Regions from separate parts of the Homo sapiens genome. Here all the other regions are linked to region 4. The links are contacts of gene promoters, found by promoter capture Hi-C in blood cells and fetal thymus (Javierre and others, 2016). All regions are on one chromosome and are shown on one strand. Each heading gives the region's core, a stretch centred on a gene start or on the middle of the fragment in contact. The rest is flanking DNA. Distances are from core to core; before and after follow the strand shown. Region 1 overlaps PUM2 (pumilio RNA binding family member 2). Region 2 overlaps PUM2 (pumilio RNA binding family member 2). Region 3 overlaps PUM2 (pumilio RNA binding family member 2). Region 4 holds the start of MATN3 (matrilin 3).

Region 1 (2,700 bases), core at 169-2,668, 320 kb before region 4:
AGAAAATAATTTAGGAATACTAGGCCAGGTGTGGTGACTTATGCCTGTAATCCCAGCACTTTGGGAGGCCGAGGTGGAAGGATTACTTGAACTCACGAGTTCCAGATCAGCCTGGGCAACATGGTGAGACCCCGTCTGTACCACACACACACACACACACACACACACACACACACACACACACACACACACACAGATCAGCCTGGGCAACATGGTGAGACCCCGTCTGTAACACACACACACACACACACACACACACACAAATTAGCCAGGCCTGGTGGCACCTGTGGTCCCAGTTACTCAGAAGGCGGAGTTGGGAGGTTCCCTTGAGCCTGGGAGGTCAAGGCTGCAGTGAACCCTGATTACGTCACTGTGCTCCATCTTGGGCAACAGAGCAAGACCCTGTCTCTTTAAAAAAAAAAAAAATTATATCTTTAACTTTAGAACCACTTTTTAGGCCAGGCACATTGGCTCATTCCTGTAATGCTAGCATTTTGGGAGGCCAAGGCAAGGTGCAGATCACTTGAGTTCAGGAGTTCAAGACCAGCCTGGGCAACATGGCAAAACCCTGTCTCTACAAAAAATACAAAAATTAGTTGGGCATAGTGGTATGCATTTGTAGTCCCAGCTCCTTAGGATACTGAGTAGATGGATCACTAGCCCAGGAGGTCAAGGCTGTAGTGAGCCATAATCAATGCCACTGCACTCCATCCTGGGCAATAGTGAGACCCTGCCTCAAAAAAAAACAAACAAAAAAACAAAAAAACGCTTTTTGTGTTATGTAAACAGTTTTCTAAAGCTTGTCATCTTCATTTCCATCTAAATTATTTGACCTGCTTCTCTCAGACAATACCTAAAGCATCAAAACCCAGCATAGATTGAGGCTGTTTAGTGTGTAGATCTTATCTAAGTAGTATATTTTTCAAAATAAGGCAACTTTTCTTCAGCAGTATTTTGATTCTCCAAATAAGTCAGTTGAGAGGATGCCTTATAAGAGGAGAAACTTTTGTAAGGACCCAAATATATGGTGATTCCCCTTTCAGAGAATTTTAATGGAACAAAAATCTTATGTTTGCACATATATAGATTTGTCTAAATGATGGGGTTGGAATAAAACATTAAAAGATTTGAGCTTTGAGCTAATAGGGTCTTTGAAGGAGATTTTTGGCTTCTGTAAGTCTGTATGTTGACAACACTAATTTTTATGCCAAATTTCATTCAAAACATAAAACTTTACTTTTCCTTATTATAATTGAGTCAGTAATACTATTCTTTGTTATAGAGCTTTTTTGCCTTGCTAGTAAAGCCAGCAGAGGTAACTCCCCCATGAAAGTATTTGGACAAACTAGAAAACAGACTGTTGATTTAGCTCTTGGTTGACCCACTAGCTAAGTGACTTGTTCGTCACTGAAAAACTGTATGATTCAATTTATGCCCTCAGAAAAATAAGAAATTACCAAGAGTTGGTTTGAATAGTAGAAACTTTGTTAAATCTTTAAAGGCTAATGGTCTCCTATAAATACCTAAACCTGGATTTAGATTTACTTTTGTCATGTGAATGAGAAAAAGCATTGCTAAACAAAAAAAGTTTGTTGGCAGATTTGCAATAAAGTGATTTAATTTGCTGAGCAGAAGAAAGTATTCTTTAGGAATTCAGCACTTGTTTGTTTGCCGTAGATACCACGGATGTTCAATGATTATGTTCATTAAAATCAGTCCAGCTGGGTGCAGTGGCTCACACCTTTAATCCTAGCACTTTGAGGGGCTGAGGCAGGAGGGCTGCTTGAGCCCAGGAGTTTGAGACCAGCCTAGGCAACATAGGGAGACCCCTGTCTCTACAAAAAATACAAAAATTTGCTGGGGGTGGTGGCATGCACCTTTAGTCCCAGATACTCCCGGAGACTGAGGTGAGAGGATGCAGAGAGCTATGATTGCCCCACTGTACTCTAGCTTCGGTGATAGAGTGAGACCTTGTCTCAAAAAAAAACAAAACAGTCCAAGGAGGATGATTACGGAGAATATGTCCTAAGAAGCTTAAGTCACTCTGTGTATTGACTTATTTGTGACTCAACTAGGTTTTTATGTAATTTTGTTGTCTTTGTAATTGATGCAAAAGGAAGGTACAGTCTCCAGGCTGTAGATGACAGACTTGGAGAAGTAGTGCCTGTGTGAAGTTGCAATCATTAGTCATTTTGTGTTGGTAAATGTCTTCAGCAGTACAAAAAGTCTAAGCGAAAGCCTTGTTCATTGTCCTTATGTTAAAATAAGCATTGTATGTTAATATATGAAGATATGTAAATACTTAGTCACTATCCAGATACTAATTGATTTTATGATCGGAATTCACATTTCATAAAATATGGTTTTTTTCATTCATTAAATGTTGAACGTTTACATAGCTAAGACAGTCACTAATCCCTTTGACCCCAGAGGTTAATTTCTACTATGGTGTTAATTTATAATTACAAGATTATAAAAGTGTGATTAGTACCATGTGGCAGTAGAGTGCTTTAATACCATTTATTGTATCTCCAAATGCTTTCCCCACCCTGTTTTTAATGTAGGCATATGGTAAGAAATTGAACCAGATATCCAGGAAGAAATAATATTTTTAATTTAAAAAATTTTTTTGAGACAGAGTCTTGCTTTGTCACCCAATCTGGAGTGCAGTGGAGCGGACCATGGCTCACTGCAGTCTTG
Region 2 (2,700 bases), core at 61-2,560, 280 kb before region 4:
CTGCATGTGTTTGCTGTGTCCTGTAACTCATTGATCCTCCTAGGCTCTTGATGCTGGCCCTATTACTCATTTCTTAGGCACGTGCCACCACACCCAACTTTTTTTTTTCTTTTGTATTTTTAGTAGAGACGGGGCTTCACCATATTGGCCGGCTGGTCTTGAACTCCTGACCTCATGATCCACCCACCTTGGCCTCCCAAAGTGCTGGGATTACAGATGTGAGCCACCACGCCCAGCCACACAACATGTCTTAAAGTGGATTACTTAATCTTTTGAGCCACAACTTTTTAGCCTTTTTAGAAATACAAACGAAAAAACCACTCTCATAAGAAGGGCCTTACTAGGATTTGTATTTGTATGTTTCAGTGACTTTTGGGCTGTTCACATGATCCCCTCACACTAAAACTTTCTTTGATGCCTTCTTTACTTCATTGTGCCCAGACTATGATGATGAAATAATTCTCATTTTCCATATCCAAATAGTTACATAGTTATAAAGCTAATGTGTATACTAAAAAGGGCTCACTTGAGAAAATCGATGTTCCTTCAGGCCTCATACTTTAGCTCTTCTTTCTAGCTTTCTTCAGTACTTTATCAGATCCCTAGTTACTGTTCTATTCTTAACTCTTCTGCTTTATATCCTGTGTGCTATTGTTTTTCCGTCTTGAATCTTTAGTCTTTCCCTCTCCCAATCCTTCCTTTCAACCCCACTGTGCTATTCTGCCTGTTCATCCTAAAAAGCTTTATCTCTGCTCTGCTTCCCTCATGGACTATTTGTCAAAATTTATACTCTATCCCATAACTTTTAAATTCTGCCTCTATAATTCCTTTGCAGTATCTCTAATATAACTTAGTGACAGTTACAAAGTATAATTTCCTCTGTATCTTTTTTTATGCTCAGTTTGTTGCAGTTCACCCTGTTGACTGTGTCCAACTCTTTGTAACTCTTTTCTGCGGAGTGGTATTTCACTCATAGCCTTTTCACCTCTCATTGCTTTTTTATCAGTCTCTGCTTCCTCTATGTATATCCTTAAATATAAAAGACAGTCTGGCTTAATGGCTGCCTTCTTCAGAGTCAGATTTGCTGTATTTCCACCACATAGCTATTGTTTAACCGTGCCCAAGTTATTTTCCTTTTTGAATTTTCGTTTCAGATAGGAAAAGTGGAGATACTTTAGACTTATTCCTCAGGAGAGTATATTTGCATTAATCCTTTCAACTATTATCCCTGTGAATTTACATCTGCATCTTGGATTCTTTTCTGAACACCTAATACATGTCTGTCCTTATACCAGACATTTCTACTTTTATGTTGCAGGCACTCCTCAAATTGAAAATGTCAGAAAATGAACTCACATTTCCAAATTTTCCTGTCTACTGTTTACCTTGTTTCACTTTACTTTCTCTAGAACTAGAAACTCTTGGCTGCAACTTCAAAGTTACCTTTAACTATTGGTTTTCTTCTGTGCCTCCACATCCAATAACTTGCCAATTCTCTACCATTCTGTCTCATGGTCATTTTTATTTTTATGGAGACAGTGTCTGTGTTGCGAGACTGGTCTTGAACTCCTGGCCTCAAGCAATTTTCCTGCCTTGGCCTCCCAAAGTGCTGAGATTATGGGCCTACCAAATCTCTCAACTTCCTTCATAGTCCTGTGCTTTAATGCACTAGACCATATACTGTTACCCAAACATACCATGCACTTCTATGCCTCTAGTCCTAGCTCATGTTCTTTTTTTTTCTAGCTTAAAATACCCCTTTATAAATTTTAAACAAAATTGGTGTATATAGTTCTTGCTTTTTAAAATTTCAGCCCATAAACATTTTGTGATTAACTATCCTTCTCATCTTTTAATATGGTCCCTTTCATGAAGCTTTCCTCAATCTTTCCCAGTGCTCATTCATTGATAATTACTCCCTTGTCTGCTCTCTTTGGTATATTACTTGCATCTTCTTTTAGTACTTCTGTGTGCCTTGCATTTCATTTAGCTATTTGTGGTTTATTTTCACCATTCTACAACTCTTATTTTAATGTGGTCGTAGATGGGAAATGTCTTAGAGAGTTTTGTTTCTCTGAAGGGAAGTTGTTAGATCTATGTCATATGTTAAAGTAAATGGCATTTTAGAATTAAGAAGGGGTGTGTTTCCTCCTGTGCTAGATTGCATAATTCTTGAGTACGAGGACCATGTTTTTTTGTTTTTGTTTTTCAATTCCCCATGTCTTGTCTTCATTCTTCCCTACGTCGTTTTTTTTTCCTTTTCCCACTCTTCATACATTCATCTAACCAGTCACAGACTTTCTCAGTAGCAAAAAGATAATTCAGATGAGATCAGGCACGATCAGGGTTGTATGGCCATAGACAAAAAGAATGGAAATTAGCAACTTTTGAACAGAATTACAGTGAAAATGCTGCATATTTAAACTTGTGGATTAGAACAAAAACATAGCATAGAGAATATATAGGTTTTAATGATTACATTAGAAAATTAGGCTGGAAATGAATGAGTTAAGCATTTATCCAGAAACTCTAAAAAAAAGAGAGAGAATAAAACCAAAGAATGTAGAAGGAAGCAAATAATAAAAATAGGAGCTGATATGAATGAAAAGTAATAAACAAAATAATTATCCCGGAAATTACTTTGAAGACAATGAAGTTGACCACCTCTTTGAAAAGACAATAAAGTTGATAACCTCAGAG
Region 3 (2,700 bases), core at 133-2,632, 290 kb before region 4:
TTAAATTATTACAGTACAGTATCAAAAACAGTAATATGATATTGATGCAGTATGTATGTATAGTTTTATTTTATTTTATCAGGTGTAGATTTGTGTAAACATTTTTATGCCTGTCTGATTTTGTCTAAGTTTGTATGAAGACTGTCAACATCAGAGTCTATGGAAGGGGGTTGTCTTTCCTTAATGTCATATTCTTCTGTGTTAGTGCAATAAGGCTTCCTAAGCCCTAATTTTTATTTTTCAGTTTTTTTGTTTGTTTATTTTGGAGAGAGAGTCTCACTCTCACCCAGGCTGGAGTACAGTGGGGCAATCTCGGCTCACTTCAGCCTCCGCCTTCTGGGTTCAAGAGATTCTCCTGCCTCAGCCTTCTGAGTAGCTGGGATCACAGGCGTCTGCCACCACATCTGGCTAATTTTTGTATTTTTAGTAGAGACGGGGGTTTTACCATGTTGGCCAGGCTGGTCTTGAACTCCGGATCTCAGGTGATCAGCCCCCCCTCGGCCTCCCAAAGTGCTGGGATTGCAGGTGTGAGCCACCGCGTCTGGCCTATTTTTTGTTTTCATCAAAAATGTCAGGCTGCACAGTGGCGCCATCCTGAAATCCCAGCACTTTGGGAGGCTGAGGCAGGTGGATCACCTGAGGTCAGGAGTTTGAGACCATCCTGGCCAACATGGTGAAACCCCGTCTCTACAAAATTACAAAAATTAGCTGGGCTTAGCAGTGGGGGTCTGTAATCCCGTCTACTTGGGTGTCTGAGGCAGAGAATCGCTTGAACCTGGGAGACGGAGGCTGCAGTGAAGCAAGATTGCACCACTGCACTCCAGCCTGGGTGACAGAGAGAGACTCCGCTCAAGAAAAAAAAAAAAAAAAAAAAGTCCACATTTATAGGTGAGTGCCAGTCGCAGCATGTACTCTGGCCCCGTTTCTTTCCTCTTTTTGCCTCTCTTTCCTTTTTTCCCCACCCGCTTTATCCCTTGTTTGTCCTCTTATGTTAGAAATGTACTGCTACCTGTCTATTCATGGACAGCACAACGGTTTTTATTTCTCGAGGCTTTATATTATTAGGCAGGCTAATACATCTATTACTCTTCTTTTTTGGGGTTTTAAGTTTTTGGTTCTTGCTTATTTGCTTTTTTGTATGAACTTCAAAATTAGCTTATCTACTTCCAGAAGATAGGATTAAATGTTGTAATTTACTTAGGGAAATTTGACATCTTTATGCCATCAAGCATCAGGTTTTTTTTGTTGTTATTGTTTTTGTTGTTGTTTCTTTGACAAGGAGGTCTTGTTGTTTGACCCAGGCTGGAGTGCAGTGGTGCAGTCTTGGCTCACTGCAACTGCTGCCTCCCAGGCTCAAGTGATCCTCTCGCCGCAGCCTCCCGAGTAGCTGGGACCACAGGTGCACGCCACCACACCTGGCAAATTTTTTGTAGAGACAGGGTTTCACCATGTTGCCCAGGCTGGTCCTGAGCTCAAGTGATCCACCCACCTCGGCCTTCCAAAGTGCTGGGATTACAGGCGTGAGCCACCGTGCCCTGCTGACATCAAGTATTCTTGTCCAGGGTGTGATGTGTCTTTATTTTTGTTCAAGTTTACTGTAGTGTCATTTGAGTGCTTTAAAATTTTTCTCATAGGGGTTTGCATATTTCATTCTAAGTTTATTTTATGTATTTTATGTTTTGTTATTGTAAATGGCTTTCTTCCTGTCTTTCATTGTAGCTTTAAAGTGTTATCTATGAAAACTCAAGTACCATATATCAGATTTCATGAATGATATTTTAAAATAGTTGAATCGTCTTCCCATTCTTGGAATAAAAAAGACTTGTATATAATAATTATTTCTTTTAACATACTCTTTCAATTTGCTAGTATTTCATTTAGGATTTTTGCATCTATATAGTTAGATGAAATTAGTCTCTGTGTATCTGCAGTTTTTTCACGTTTTTTAGTGTCAGCATTCTTGCTTCACAAAAATAATTTTAGATACGTCTTTTTTTTTTTTTTTTTTTTTTTTTCGAAGACAGGGTCTTACTCTGTCACCCAGACTGGAGTGCAGTGGTACAGCCTCAGCTTCCCAGGCTGAAGCAATCCTTTCATCTCAGCCTCCCACATAGCTTGGGACTATAGGCTCGAGCCATGATGCCCAGTGAATTTTTTGTAGAGACGGGGATTCACCCTATTGTCCAGGCTGGTCTCGAACTCCTGGGCTCAAGTAATCCACCTGACTCAGCCTCCCAAAGTGCTGGGATTATAGACATGAGCCACTGCGCCCAGCCATTTCTTTCTTATTTTAATGCCTTAGAGTATTTTAATAATATTGGACTTACGTAATCTTTAAAGATGTGGCAGAACTTTCATGTGTGAGAAACCTAATATAAATAAATTTGAAAACCTAGAAAGCATAGTGTATCAAAATTGACCCCACATTTTAACTCAATTCCACAGTTAAGCAAATTCATTATTGACAATCTTTTTTATCCAAATTTGCCTGGTCACCTCTTAGCTGGCCAATAGCTCATTTAGAAAAGGACTAGTCGATAGAAATATGTATAATATGTACCATATAATTTGCAGTTATTTAGTAATCACATTTTTAAAAATTAAAAAATAGGTGAAATTAATTTGAATATTTTATTTAGCTCATATCCAAAATATTGCAAAATGTAGTCAATATGGAACTTACTAATGAGAATTTTTGCA
Region 4 (2,700 bases), core at 52-2,551:
CCCCTCAGCTCCTGTTAACCACCATTCTTTCTGTCTCTATGAATTTGACTACTCTAGATTCCCCATGTAAATGGAATCATACAGTATTTGTCTTTTTGTGACTAGCTTATTTCACTTAACATAATACTCTCAAGGTTCATCCATTTTGTAGCATCTGCCAAAATTTCCTCCCTTTTAAGGCTGAACAGTATTCCATTGTACGTAGATACTGCATTTTGCTTTTCCATTCACACAAAGAGAGACACTTGGGTTGTTTCCGCCTCTTGGCTATTGTGTATAATGCTGCTACCAGCATGGGGTACAAATATGAGAAGTGAGGTTTAGGATCGTGTGAGGAGGATCACTTGTAGAGGGAAAATAGTGAAATAGGACGACCAGATAGGCTCTGTTGGAACTCGCGCCCATTGTTTTAAGACGCAGCTCAAATGTCACCTGGTTTTAGAAGTCTTCCTGGTCTCCGCAGGCAGTCAGTATCTCTTTCCTAAATCCACCACATTCCCGTAGACAGACACCACATTTATGCAAATCTCCTTCTCACAGACAGTGAGTTCCATGGGGGTCCCCTGGCAGCCTCCAGCCCTGTACCATGCTAACTCTTCCGGAGAGGAAATGGGGCCTCGGGAGAGCCTTTGAAGCCTGTGTTGGTACAGGCTGTCCTTCCAGCTAACGGGGCTCTCTGGGGAATGTATGTTTGACTTTCTATTCCCGGTAATATAAGTTCAAATGTTTGTGGATATTTGAAGCTCGGATGAAAGCGTTTCTATTCATGCCCCTAGAATCTGTGAGGCCTTTTCTTTCTTTTTTTTTTTTTAAACAAGAGCCCACAGCAAAACTTGGGTTACTTGGCTGAGGAAAGGAATGTAGAGCTAGGAGCAGGGTTTCATCTTCAGCCCCAGTCGGGCAAACCAGTGGCAGAAGGGAAAGCAGAGCCCAGGGGTCCCCATCCCGTACCTGGGGCGCAGGCCCCGCTGGGGTGGGAGGGAGAGTGGAGGGCCGGGCAGGCTGCAGCCGCGGATGGCTGCCCCCCCTGCCCCGGTGTTACTGGGAGGACGGAGGTTGCGACAGCAGCCGAGCCCACCCAGTTGCAGCCGGCTCGGGGCTTAGGGCAGGGGCGGGAGGTGACCACCGCGCCGCTGGCCGCCTCGCCCAGACATTCCGTTTCTGCCGCTGGAATGCGCGGACAAGGCTCCTTGTTGGCCTTGGGCGGGGTTCGCCGGGCCGGCCTGGCGCTCGAGGCCCCGGGGCGGGGCGGGGCCCGAGGCCGCGGGACCTTTAAATCCGAGCCTCGCGTGGGCTCCTGGCCCCCGACGGACACCACCAGGCCCACGGAGCCCACCATGCCGCGCCCGGCCCCCGCGCGCCGCCTCCCGGGACTCCTCCTGCTGCTCTGGCCGCTGCTGCTGCTGCCCTCCGCCGCCCCCGACCCCGTGGCCCGCCCGGGCTTCCGGAGGCTGGAGACCCGAGGTCCCGGGGGCAGCCCTGGACGCCGCCCCTCTCCTGCGGCTCCCGACGGCGCGCCCGCTTCCGGGACCAGCGAGCCTGGCCGCGCCCGCGGTGCAGGTACAGGCGGGCGGCGGGAGGGACGCGTGAGCATCGAACGAGGAGAAGCCCAGGGCATCCACCAAGCGCGCTTCATCCCGGCCTCAGGCCGACCGTGGTGCGGGGGAAAGAGGCCCCTCCCGGATGAATCCTGTGGGGGAAACTGAGGTCCAGAGAAGGGGAGGGAGATGCCCAATATCACTCATGTGTCCAGGCTAGAGATGTGGGTCTCCTGAAGCTCTCACTCCCCTGTGATTCGGCCAGGAGCACAGGGCAGCTGGGGAGCGCAGGGGCTGCTGCCCAGCGGCTGCTGCTAAGCTCCGTCCCAGTCCTGACCTCTCCATTCAGTGAGCAAACCCTTCCTGAGACTCTGCTGTTAGTTCTCTTGGAATCTCTCCATCTCCATCCAATATCAGGGCGTGATCTTTCCTCCCCTCCCACAGTCCTCAGGCTGCCTCAGACTGGAAGGTAAGGGATGCGGGTGTGAGACCAGGAGGAGATCCGAGGAGCCGTAGGATACCCCAGGATCAAGACACTCTGGGTCTTTGGCGAACAATTCTATTTCTCTTTTTGGTCAGCAATTGATTCCTGAAGCAGAGCAAAGCTCATAGTGCAGCGAAGCGGGCAGGTCGTCTGACACAGCCCCTGACAGCACATGAAGGGAAACTGAGGCATATCAAGTTGAAGGGACTCTGTGAATCAGTATCAGAGGCCACAATAAAATTCAGGGCTCCGAAATCCCAAGCAAGGTCTCTTTCCACTGCCCCAGCCTACCAACCTCTTAATATGGTTTACATAAGATTGTATCTTCATTTCCAAAAAGCGCAGCTTCAGTCTTGCTAAAAAGAGTCTGTGCCAGGCCATTTCTGGGTATGCAGTCTCATTTGGCCAGCCACGCTGCATGCCTCAGGCTGATTTCAATTGTCTATCCCCTTCTGCATCTTTCTGGATAAGCTGAGAAGGAGCTCAAGGGACTCTTTCCTGACTCAAATACTCAGTCCCCGTATTTGAAGTGGCAGATTTGAAATGGCAAAAGCATTGCTGCTAAGGCAGGAGGTACCGGGGTCCACAGGGCTAGATTCAGCTGGTGGCTGGTTGCTCCAGGCCGGGAATTGAGGGAAAGCCTTTCTTCTGGAAGTTAATCTTACTCTAGTCCTGACC

Evidence for each region. Contacts are between HindIII fragments. The CHiCAGO score rates a contact against its expected background, and 5 or more counts as called.
Region 1: a contact is called between a fragment that was not itself captured here and the fragment with the promoter of MATN3 in region 4, in 1 of 17 cell types (M2 macrophages). The highest score is 5.0, in M2 macrophages.
Region 2: a contact is called between a fragment that was not itself captured here and the fragment with the promoter of MATN3 in region 4, in 5 of 17 cell types (M2 macrophages, M1 macrophages, M0 macrophages and 2 more). The highest score is 10.6, in M2 macrophages.
Region 3: a fragment that was not itself captured here is called in contact with the fragment with the promoter of MATN3 in region 4 in 1 of 17 cell types (M2 macrophages); the score reaches 5.2 in M2 macrophages.

What each region holds. Positions count from the first base shown.
Region 1 is chr2:20,334,244-20,336,943 of GRCh38, reverse strand. The region is part of intron 1 of PUM2 (pumilio RNA binding family member 2); the gene reads left to right. Among named protein-coding and RNA genes, the nearest start is that of PUM2, 15 kb to the left of the region's middle. The HindIII fragment of the contact is 1,234 bases long and covers 802-2,035 here.
Region 2 is chr2:20,286,549-20,289,248 of GRCh38, reverse strand. The region is part of intron 10 of PUM2 (pumilio RNA binding family member 2); the gene reads left to right. Among named protein-coding and RNA genes, the nearest start is that of SDC1, 63 kb to the right of the region's middle. The HindIII fragment of the contact is 1,134 bases long and covers 744-1,877 here.
Region 3 is chr2:20,304,779-20,307,478 of GRCh38, reverse strand. All of the region lies in intron 7 of PUM2 (pumilio RNA binding family member 2), which reads left to right. Among named protein-coding and RNA genes, the nearest start is that of PUM2, 45 kb to the left of the region's middle. The HindIII fragment of the contact is 2,974 bases long and covers 1-2,700 here.
Region 4 is chr2:20,011,269-20,013,968 of GRCh38, reverse strand. MATN3 (matrilin 3) reads left to right here and starts at 1,301. Exons shown (of 8, transcript NM_002381.5): 1 at 1,301-1,560. The coding sequence starts at 1,338. RefSeq lists an enhancer at 1,585-2,197. The HindIII fragment of the contact is 3,809 bases long and covers 1-2,700 here.